Regions from separate parts of the Homo sapiens genome. Here all the other regions are linked to region 2. Evidence: promoter capture Hi-C in human tissues and cell types (Jung and others, 2019). All regions are on one chromosome and are shown on one strand. The core of a region is centred on a gene start or on the middle of the fragment in contact, and the rest is flanking DNA. Distances in the headings are between cores, read along the strand shown.

Region 1 (2,700 bases), core at 16-2,515, 290 kb before region 2:
TCCCCTCTTCCCCACCTCCCTGCAGACTCCCTGCCCCCACCTCCCCACTCTTCCCTCACCCCACCTCTTTAAAACCTCCTCCAGCCCCCACCTGCTCACTGCTGGGAGTTTCTCCCTAAAATCTCCTTGCCTCCCAACAAGGCTTCTACTTTCCTTCCCCTAAATCTGGGCAGGAATCCCTTTACCCACACCTCTAACTCCCTTCAGCCCCTAGTCCATAAGACCCAGCAGCAATCTCCCTCTTTGCCGCTGCCCCTACCCCAAGCTCTGCTTACCCAGGGTTATACCTAAATGTCCCTGGATGGATGGGGCCAACCACTCTCTTCTATCCTCCCCATTCCCCATACCAATGAGAGTTGAACTTCAGGGAAAGGCCACATAGAGGGCGGCCAGAGGGAGTGAGTTGCTGGCTGAGTGAGTCTAACCCTCCTTAAGACAAGAGTGTTTTGGTGTTTGTGCACATAGGAACTTCAACTCTCTTTGGCTTCAAGACCCTGCTCCCAATCTGGGGTTAGGGGTTAGGTATAGTACAACCTCCAGCTGCAGTCACCAGACCTTAAATACAGCCTCTGTCTCTCTGATTCAAACAACCCAAACCCAACTCCTCTGATTAGGGATGGGTCAGAGCCCCAGGGAAGCAATGGAAGGCTGGGTGCCTCTGAAGAGGTATAGGGGTGTTCTAGCCTGTCTCACTGCAGCGACTCTCCCTGCTTCCCGCCGCAGCCTGACCTCCATTCCTCTTAGGGACTAGCTCCCTACTGTCTCTGGGTTGGGGTTGGGGTTGGTTCTCAACATTGGTCTTCCCTTGTGTCTTGGTGTGGACCAGGGTGGCTTTGTCTGAGTGACTGACATGCCCCTGGAAATGGTTCTTGGCTCCAAGTTTCCATGGAAACCAGGGCAGGCTCTTCCAAGCAGTGTCAGCTGGCTGGGGTGGGCTGGGCACTGAGGGTGGAGCTGAGGCTGAGTGCTCCTCGGGCACAGACTTGGGTGGGTGGGCGCTGTGGAGGGGCCATGACATACAGTGGGTTGCACACAAGGGGGCACTTCTGCAAGCTTCCTCCCCGGCTTGCTCATGAGGGAGGATGAGGGACCAACTGCAGCCTCTAAGGAGAGAGAGGGACAGAATAGCAGTGGTTTGCAGGGAGGGGACGTTGTGTCTCCCCCCACCCCAGCCTCAGACTACAGACCATTCAGCAGCTCACCCACAATTTAGTTCCCCCCACCTAGATTAGGCAGCTGCAGCATTGTCACCTACCAGGCACCATTCCTGCCAGGGTGGAGGTGGGGTAGCTTCCCTGGCCAGTGGGGGGCACGTGAGGGGGGTAACCAGGCAGAGTGGTGCTCGCCATGTCACGACCTGGAAAAACACAAAGGGGAAGGGGTGAGGCCTGGAAGAAAGGGGCCTGCCTCTACTCACACCAGGGTACTGCACGGAGAGGAAACTCTTGGAGAGGAAAGAGCTCTGTGCAGACGTGCAGGGGTATGTGTGCCACTGTGCACCTGAATGCGCCATCTGAGTGTGCCTTTGCATGTGTCTAAGCTAAATGTCTATGATCAGCTGTGTGTACGCATCTCTGTTTTGTGTAGCTCTTTGTGTCTCTGTGTATTTGTGTGTGTGTGTGTGTGTGTGTGTGTGTGTGTGTGTGTGTGTATCTGCCTTTGCCTGTGTCTCTGTGCATTCCAAACCCAGATGGAGATGGGAGGGAGATGACCTGGTTTTACTCCTCCTTCTCAGCAAGATATTCAGCTGTGGTCTCTCCAGCAGCCAAATGGACCTCTATCATCTTGCTTATCTTTCCTCTCCCTAACACCCCATCTTTCCTTCAGGCTTGGAGGACACCCCACCATCACCCCTACAGGGACTGATGGCTATTCCTTGTCCTCTCCAAGTGGAGCTGCAGGTCCTGGTCCTGGCAGGTGTGGAGAGCAGGGGGGCAGCCAGTGGGCTATTTTGCTGTTAGTGTTTATGGCATTTACATGATAGAAAACCACCCTGAAGTGAATCAGGAGCTTTGAGCCAAAAGTGCAAGTGGACCAGATAAAGTTCCAATGAGCAAAATCTGCTCCCCCACCAGCTGCTGGACTTCTGTCCCTGGAGGGCTCTATCAGCTAAAGCCTGGAGGGTGGGAGACAAAGCGAGTCAAGATGAGGGTGCTACCCCTGGTCCACCGACATGTCCTCTGGGACACAGCTGCACATGACTGGGCTCCCTACCTTGCCTGCATCCTCCATGGCTATGAAGGGGCCACCACCTCCCTTTGCAATTTAGCATGCTCTGATCTCTAATAATAATTTGCTTTCTCCCCTCTGCCATAATCTCTTTATCCTCTCCTGGACCTCCTGGAACCCCCTTAACCCCTCCAGATTCCCCTTATTCTCCTCACTAGCCAATGCCACTCTATTACTCTAATGCCTCTGTCTATCCTTGGGAAGGCAAGGCATGGCTGGAGAAAGTAACAGAACTATGCATACCTGGGCCCGTTCACTTTCTTTTCATCAGCTGGGCCATAGTCATTATTCTCCCAATGGCTATTCCAAAGCATCTCTCTCTCTCTTTGCTACTCTCCCTTTGAAGATGGCCTCACCTCCCTGCATTCCAGAGCTGTATGAGTTTCCTCATCCCTACCTTGACACGTCTGAGTGATTTATCCTTCCCTAGCTATACAGAGCTACAGCTCAGGTTTTTGCATTTCTAGTACC
Region 2 (2,700 bases), core at 64-2,563:
GCCAGGCTGGTCTTGAACTCCTAACCTCAAGTAATCTTCCCACCTCAGCCTCCCAAAGTGCTGGGATTACAGGCGTGAGCCACCGCACCCGGCCTAAAAGGGTGAATTTATGGTATGTGAATAATATCTTAATAAAAATAAATAAATTAGATCAACTCTGTTTCTTGACCTAAATTGGATCAGGGTTTGCTATTGGTTGAATGCAGATGTTGTGCAATTATTCTGAACATCAACTAGTGATGTCATTTACAAGACAGCAAGTTGCTGTGTAGTCCTTCCCAAAATTTATATATTAAATAGTATATATCCATATTTGTTTACTTTTTATAACTTAAAAAAAAAGAGACGAAGTCTCACTATGTCACCCAGGCTGGTCTCAAACTCCTGGTCTCCAGCCATTCTCCAACCTAGGCCTCCCAAAGTGTTGGGATTACAGGTGTGAGCCACAGCTCCCAGCTTATATGCATTTTTATTGCTCTGATATATACTTGAGAATGTTTATAATAATAGGTTCTGCTCCAAAACAGTGGTCACCTGAAAAGTCACTGGAAATACGTGCATATTTATAATGTGTAAGTTATTCAAATCCCAAGTGAAAACATTCATATGCAAACATAATAATGTCTCCAATTCTTCTGTTGAGTTAGTTTGTTCATTATGGGCCGGTTTGTAATTTGTTTTATCCAAGTCCTACCAACTCTGAGGCTTTAAGCTGTCTCTGGAGAGCTGCCTCTGGTGATAAGTTTAATTTTACATTTGTTGGGTTGAGGTGACTGAGACATGCAGATGGAAACACGGACTGAAACTAAGGAGCCAATTCAGGGCCGAATTGTGTGTTGCACTGGCGTCTAAGTGAAGATCAACCCATTTGGAGAACAGAACAACAAGCAAGACCAACAGGTGAATTTGAAGAATGATCATGTTTGGGGATGGAAGGAAGTGCCCGTGAAGGAGAGGAAAGCAAGCAGCCAGAGAAGAGAGTAAGACAGGCTCATTTCACTAGTACAGCTCCTGGGGGAGGTGGTTAAGCTGTCTACCTGAGTTGCTCAGGTTCCGAGTTCCCATCATCCCTGGATGGGTCTAAGTCAGCTCAGGGAGAAAAAGGACACAACATTCTGAAATGTCAGAGACCTGCCTGGTTTTCCCTTCTTCCCGCTTATCCTTCCCAGCCTCTATCCAACCCTTGGCTTCCCAACTGCGTATTTAAACCCCGCCCCTGTTGAACCCTTCGGCTTTTCTTCACTCCCGGCTTCCTCCGTCACGTTTGGCCCGGCTCAGCCGCCGTGACAGGCCTTTGCGCATGTGCAGAAGGGAAACGTGAAGAAGGTGAAGATGGCGGTGGCCAGGGCCGGGGTCTTGGGAGTCCAGTGGCTGCAAAGGGCATCCCGGAACGTGATGCCGCTGGGCGCACGGACAGGTCCGCGAGAACGGGCGAGACCTCAGTGTGGGAAGGGGGTACCTGAAATTTGGTGTATCGGGAGGGGGGATCGTAGATGCCGCGGCGGCAGCCTCCGGGTAGGGAGTGGAGGTGGCGTTGATATATCCAGAAAATGGGGTGGAGGATCGCACTGATCCTGCGAAGTCCCGGGCTCGGACCTCTGCAGCCCCTGCGACTTGAAGCCTTCGGAGCGGCTGGAGAGCGGGCTCGCTTCTGACCTGTTCTCTTCTGCGTTCTAGCCTCCCACATGACCAAGGACATGTTCCCGGGGCCCTATCCTAGGACCCCAGAAGAACGGGCCGCCGCCGCCAAGAAGTATAATATGCGTGTGGAAGACTACGAACCTTACCCGGATGATGGCATGGGGTGAGACAGAGAGGGTATGCTCGCACCCAAGTAGTGATGGGAGAAGGCCGGCTGGGTTGGGTGGCTTGACTGTGACCCTTTTTCCCGAACCTTCTCGTGACCCCTCAGAGTCAATGGAGTGGGTGCTTTTCTCTGTGGAGGGAGGTGGGAGGGGGGTGGGTGAGCAGCTGCAGCTGAGAGGACTTCAATTTTCTCCTTGGCTCAGGCTGTTTCCTCAAATGAGGAAGCCGAGGTTTTAATGGCTCCCTCGAGGACCCCCGAATAGCAGGAGCCTTCCTTGGCTCTATCCAGAGCGTCGAGTTTCATTTAGATTGAGCATCTGCTGCGCTCAGGTGCTGTCATCCAGGCATGTGACCAGGCTGGAGCTGGACTCCTGTCATGAGAATCTTATTTGTAAACGGAGTACTCTATATTTGTGTGTATGTCTCTTTAAAAAAAATGTTTTTCTGTTAGTGCTGTGGAAATCGTAGCAACTATTAAGCAGATTAAACAGCCAGCCCCCTTACGTACTCCAGTTGATGTTATCCTATCCCTTCCACACTCTTCCGTATCCATACCCACATAACATCCCAATGGTTAATTATCTGAAGTGATTATCATCGCCTTTATTTCCTGTCCTAATGTCACTCTTTCAATCTTGGTTTCAGCAACTTCTATTCTTCTTGTTATACACTCATTTTCTGTAGCATATGTCTAGTTGTCATCATTTCCTGTTTTTTCTTATGTTGTGGACAAGAGCAGCCTTGTTCGAAGCCAGTGTCAGATGAACCTGGATTTGTTGGGGAAAACCCAGCTTAGCAAGAGGTCCCATGAGGTGTTTGAGACGCAGAGATGAATGCCAACTGGGTGGTCAAGAACACAGTTATTACGAGAAGAGTGCTTTTCTAATCTGTACC
Region 3 (2,700 bases), core at 117-2,616, 440 kb before region 2:
TCCTATACATACACATGTATGTGTAGGGACATGCACACAAACCCATTGATATAGTGGGCCAGGCAATCATGTTCACAGAAGGGTCAAGTACATGTGTGCTCACACGCAGTTCTTGAACACACAACTACATCCATGCAGAGACAAGCACACATGCATACAGGGGTCCAGTTTTTGCCATAGGCTTGGAGGCTGCCAGTGTCCACTGGGGTGAGATGCAGAGCAGAACCCTGCCTCTGTTCCTGAAAGTCCCAATTCTAAGGCCCAATTTCAAGTGTGTGTTTGTGTGTGGGGGTGGTGAGGGGGTTGTGTGTGTGTGTGTGTGTGGTGATGGGGGAGGCTTCTGACCTTGGATGGGCAGATGGGATGGGTGCATGAGTCAAGGCCGCTCTACAAGGGAGGGAATGGGAAAGTAACTCAGGCAGGAGGAGGCCCCTAGCTTCAGCAAAGATGGAATGGAACGCATAATTTAGTACTCCTCCACCCCTATGTATATTGCGGTTCTAAAGGTGGGAGACGGGCTGGAGCTCTCAGCCCCCACTTAACCTGTGGGAGGGGGCGGGGCTAAGTGGGCGGGGCGGAGCATATCACCCCTCCCTTCAGTGGCGAAGTACGGGTTTAAGGTCTCCAGTCCACGCCCCACACTCCACCCCAAGTTCCACAGTTCGGGTTCTTCCCCAGGGCCAGCCCCCTGAACTCTGATCACCTTTCCTCTATTAGATCTTGGGGTGGAGGGAACTGGGGAGGAGAGACCCTTCAAACAGGATCAATGGAGGATCAGCAGGCTCTCGACCTTCATCCCAGATGTCCACCTGCCTAGTGTAGGCGGTATTTCCCTCTGCCTAGTAGGATGGCGGTCTCTCCTGGCTTGAGAGAGCCCCTCCCCCGGGACCCCCTCCCTCCAACATCCTGGACAGTCCGCGGTCCTCTCCCTTCGTCAGGTCTAACCTCAGTCTCTACTGCTGCAGCTCGAGGACAAGCTCTCCTTCGATCCCGCCGGACGCCGGGAGACGTGACCCAGATCCTGGGGAACACTGTTCGCCACGCGGCCCCCTCCCCGCGCTGGTCCCCGACTCCGTGGTGGCCGGTTTGCACCCCGCGCAGCCCGAGGCCTGGCCCGCGCCCCTCTAGAGCCGTCATGCAGGACCGGGGGACTTGGTGGTGAGAAAGGCCTGGCCCAGCTTGGAGGGTAGAATGGACGTGGGGGAGGCCTTGCCCGACCCCCGGCCCGCAGCCCCAGGCTCACGCCAGGGCGCCGCCCGCACTCCTCGCCTTGCTCACCTTTGCGCTCGGATCCGGGGCCATAGAGACAGCGACGCGCGGCTCCGCGGCCCCACAGCACCAGCTGCGAGAGGAAGGGGCCGCGGCTGGAGGCGGGGCGGGGGGGGGGTGGTGGAGGCGGAGCCGGGGGTGGGGCGGGGTCCTGAAAGGCGGGGCCGACTGGGTGGGGTGAGGGGAAGGTCGCCACTCTCTTCTTTGCGCCCCCTACTCTAGCACAATAGAGGCGGTTTGAGGGCGAGGCTCACACACAGCCTTCGGCCATCGGGCGACCCCCCACCTCTAGGCGCTGCGGCCCTGAAATCGCCCCCTGGTGGTGGCCTCGCCACCCCGTGCACCCTCCACATGCTTATAGCCCGTCCTCTCCTCCGCTGTAACCCTAGGACCCCCCTGACTTGCCTACTGCTGGGGACGTGCAAACCTGTCCTGGCGTTGCGGGGTTGGGGGACCCTCTCGGAGGGCCTTCTGGCCTGTCCTCTAACCTGGACCTCACTCCCTGTGCTCCTGCCACCCGCTTCTGCTCTCGGCCTAGGGTGTGGAGGGAAGGCTACCCTAGGTGGCGACTGGACGTTAGGGAAGCTCTGAACACAAGGTAGGGGCTTGATTCCCAGCTTCAGGGGCTGTTCAGCTTGAGCTATGCGTGGGGGAGATGGGGTCAGGCCTGAAGGGGATAAAGTAACAGCCTGACCTGAAAGGCACACAGAAAATGCTTTTTCTGGATAAATAAGCCACAAGCGTTTGCACCTGTTCACTCACCAAATCTTAACCCTAACCTAGGCTCACCTCAGGGACTGGGTCATTCAAACACTTGCCTTCCCCTCCAGCTCATCTTGGGCACCATTCTTATCCAGAACTTAGAGTGCACCCTTCTAGGCAATCAAGTACCCTATCCTTCCCAGATTCAATCACCTTACCCAGCAGCAATCTAGGAAACCCCTCACAATCAACTCCCCAACTCCTTTAACTCAACTAGGATGGTCCTTCTGTGCAAACTTGGTTCCTGCCTCCTTTAATAGGTCACAGCCTATTAAAGTGAACTTAGCCCCTATAGTCCAAACAAAACCTGCATTCAGGCCCTGACCCAGCCTGGTCCTTCCTCCTCCATCCATGACAGTATTCATGTGGGCTCAAGAGATGGACCAAAATGATAAAGGCCACAGGAACATATGTGATTGACTCTTGCATGTGCCTAGGAGTCAGAACAGGATTCAAGTGGCACATTTAACTAAAGGAAACTTGGGAAAGGCTTCATCCTTCTTTCTGGATTCCCCAAAGCTCACAGTTTGGCACTGAATCATATACAATCTCGTAGTTTGGATGGCTGTGTGTGACTGCAGACTGCTAGACAGCAGGGCCCACATCACAGTTCCACCTCCCCCAACACTCTGCAAATAGGATGTGTGTGGCGGGGAGAGGGAAGGTAGC
Region 4 (2,700 bases), core at 85-2,584, 280 kb before region 2:
AGTTTCAGGGGGAAAAATGACTGTGCTGGTGTTTAATAGTCTAATGAAAGTAAATAAAGGTTATTCATTGTAATACAGGCGGGGACTCAGGGAGGGTGCACTGAGCCGCCCGCCTCGGCCAGCTCCTCCTTTGTTGGTTTATGGCTCAGGGCACCTTAAAAAGACTTTTGATTTTTGTTTTATGAAGACAAACAGCTTATGGGATAAAAGGACGGGCGGGGAGAAAGGCGAGTGGCTGGGAGCTGTTGGAGTCTTAAGAGTGGAACTACAGCGTTCAACGCTGTGGGGCTGCACTGACGTGCATGTGTGGGTGCGTGTGTGCATGCATGCAAGCACAGCAATGCTGTCTTGTGCTGTGACTGTGGGCCTGGCCTGGGCTGCATGTGTAGCAGGGATGGGAGTGTGCCCCTGTGTGGGAGCGGGTGTGCTGGGGGCTCCACCCAGCGTATGTGGGTGGAGGCATATGCTAGGGGTATGCTGAGCTGGTGATCTGGGGGCAGCACACACCCACTGGCTCCATGCGGCTGCCGGGGCTAGCTGTGAGTACCGTGGGCTGTGGGTGAGGGAGCAGGTGGGCGGTGGTGTGTGAGCACAGTACCGTGGGCTGTGGTCGGGGGAGCAGGTGGACAGTGGTGTGTGAGCACAGTACCGTGGGCTGTGGGTGAGGGAACAGGTGGGCGGTGGTGTGTGAGCACAGTACCGTGGGCTGTGGGTGAGGGAGCAGGTGGGCGGTGGTGTGTGAGCACAGTACCGTGGGCTGTGGGTGGGGGAGCAGGTGGACAGTGGTGTGTGAGCACAGTACCATGGGCTGTGGGTGAGGGGAGCAGGTGGATGGTGGAGTGTGAGCACATGCACACCAGCACATAGAAAAGTTCGGAGATGGTTTCTGCGTTGTGCGTTTTGCTGGTGTGTTACATGCTGTGCCCCATGCTATGTGTCCTGGGCTGCTCAGTGTCTGCAGAAAGTGTTGGGTGTAAGTGGGAAGCTGCCAGCCTACCTAGGGTTCCATTGAATTGCTGGCTTGGGGAGCAGGAGGCAGGCACAGGCAGGCTCTCCTGACACTGGGCAAGGAGAGCTCCCCAGTCTAGCGTAGACTTTCTGTAGGACCCTGAGGGGGTGTGGGCAAGGGACACAGCAAGAGGATGTTCCTGAGTACTCCATGCAAGAACCACAGAAAAGCGGAGCTAGAAGGGACTTGACAAACCCTACATCCAAGCCCTTCATTCTATAGATGGGGAAACCGAGGCTCTGAACAGAGATGATTTACCCAAGGCCATACTCTTGCACCCAGAACTCATTTCTAATTACCATATACAGACCATAATGATTTGTCTTAACGATACCATACTGTCTCATGTGAGCCTGTTCACACTGCACACACACAGAACACACGTGTGTAACACATACAATGCTGGCTATGCATGTGGTGTTTAGTGAACAAGTTTTTGAGAGGCCTTGCTCTGCCGGCTCCTTTCTACTTCTGCAAGCAGAAAGCTCCCTCCTCACCTGTTCTGATTTGATGTGCTCTGATGCCTGGAAGACGTCAGGGTAGGAAGGACGCTCAAAGACCCGATCCAAAGCTTCCAGCTGCTGCTGGGTGAAGGTGTCAGCTCGCAAGTGCTTCCGCAAACTGTCCACACCACTCTGGGAATCTCCATTGGGGACTGAGCCCTCAGACACATCTGGAGAACACATGGACACTCGGGGCGTTAGCGCCAGGCCAGCAGAGGCACAGGAACAGTGCAGGGCAAAGAGGTGGGCATCTGGTTCCGGGCCCAGGAGCTCTGCACCCCTATGGGACCCCTTACTCTCAGCCCCTGGGCCAGTGGGGCTGACACCAGAGGGTGGCCCTGCCTCAGAGATCTGGCTGAGGAAGCCCAAGGAAGAGAAGGACCTGAGGACCTGGTAAGAGATGGAGCGGTCACACTGTGGGGTCAGGAAGGATTAGGCAGAGGTGGAGCCAGGGGGCTCCCAGGAGCCAGCTCCCTGGGGCATGTCTCCCTGAACCACCCCCTGCCCCCAAGCCAGGGCCAGCCTGGGGAAGAAAGAAGCTGGGTGTCTCAGACTGGCATTACTGAGCCTGTGGAGAATTGAACTCGGCTCCGAGATGAATTTCAGTTCCACTAATTCCAAGGGTTGAAAACCATCAAATTTCCGAGGCCGAGTGTAACCTGGAGACTGGGTGAAGTAATCAACTTCGCCCTGAGGGAGGAGGGGCTCTGAGGCAGAGCTGAGGCACTCTGCTTGGGTTGGGCCAGGACTGAGGCCAGAGGGAAACCAAGCGGGAGGAAAGAGGTGTCGCTAGAGCAGCAAAGCTCCCGCTTGGGCAGAGCCCACAGAAGGGCCCCTGTGGATGCCTCTATGCCCTGGCCGCCTTCTCGGCCTCTGTCTCCAACCTAGACCCAGGCTCAAGCCTCCTACAGGAGCCAGTTTCTTGGTCACCTGGTTCCTCCTGCAAGTCTCCAGAGGGAGCAGAGTCTTATCACACCGGTGCCTGCTCCCCTGAGTCTACAGGCCAATCCTGTCTCCATGTCCCCTTTCCTCAGGCGTTCTCAGCCCTCCCCTATCCTTGCCTCCCAGCGTCGGTTCCTTGGAGTTTTCAAGGTGTACAGTAGGCAATGTGCCTGCTCTGTGGCCTCTCTCTGAACCCACACCTTGCAGCCCCCCAAAGTGGGGTTTCCCCCCCAAACCCCATACCAG

What was found. Contacts are between HindIII fragments. The study calls those that stand out against the background at their distance.
Region 1: a fragment that was not itself captured here is called in contact with the fragment with the promoter of NDUFB8 in region 2 in 1 of the 25 tissues and cell types used here (lymphoblastoid cells).
Region 3: a contact is called between the fragment with the promoter of SEMA4G here and the fragment with the promoter of NDUFB8 in region 2, in 1 of the 25 tissues and cell types used here (dorsolateral prefrontal cortex).
Region 4: a fragment that was not itself captured here is called in contact with the fragment with the promoter of NDUFB8 in region 2 in 2 of the 25 tissues and cell types used here (IMR-90 fibroblasts and bladder).

Annotation. Positions count from the first base shown.
Region 1 is chr10:100,823,305-100,826,004 of GRCh38, reverse strand. PAX2 (paired box 2) reads right to left here. Exons shown (of 10, transcript NM_000278.5): 8 at 1,256-1,357. Among named protein-coding and RNA genes, the nearest start is that of PAX2, 79 kb to the right of the region's middle. The HindIII fragment of the contact is 3,113 bases long and covers 1-2,700 here.
Region 2 is chr10:100,528,484-100,531,183 of GRCh38, reverse strand. NDUFB8 (NADH:ubiquinone oxidoreductase subunit B8) reads left to right here and starts at 1,313. Exons shown (of 5, transcript NM_005004.4): 1 at 1,313-1,417; 2 at 1,678-1,804. The coding sequence starts at 1,333. RefSeq lists enhancers at 841-890, 1,024-1,606, 2,449-2,618. The HindIII fragment of the contact is 7,939 bases long and covers 1-2,700 here.
Region 3 is chr10:100,968,170-100,970,869 of GRCh38, reverse strand. It overlaps SEMA4G (semaphorin 4G), which reads right to left and starts at 1,366. Exons shown (of 15, transcript NM_017893.4): 1 at 1,279-1,366. RefSeq lists a silencer at 1,350-1,409. The HindIII fragment of the contact is 9,481 bases long and covers 1-2,700 here.
Region 4 is chr10:100,805,412-100,808,111 of GRCh38, reverse strand. PAX2 (paired box 2) reads right to left here. Exons shown (of 10, transcript NM_000278.5): 6 at 1,507-1,682. Among named protein-coding and RNA genes, the nearest start is that of PAX2, 61 kb to the right of the region's middle. RefSeq lists an enhancer at 106-606. The HindIII fragment of the contact is 4,632 bases long and covers 1-2,700 here.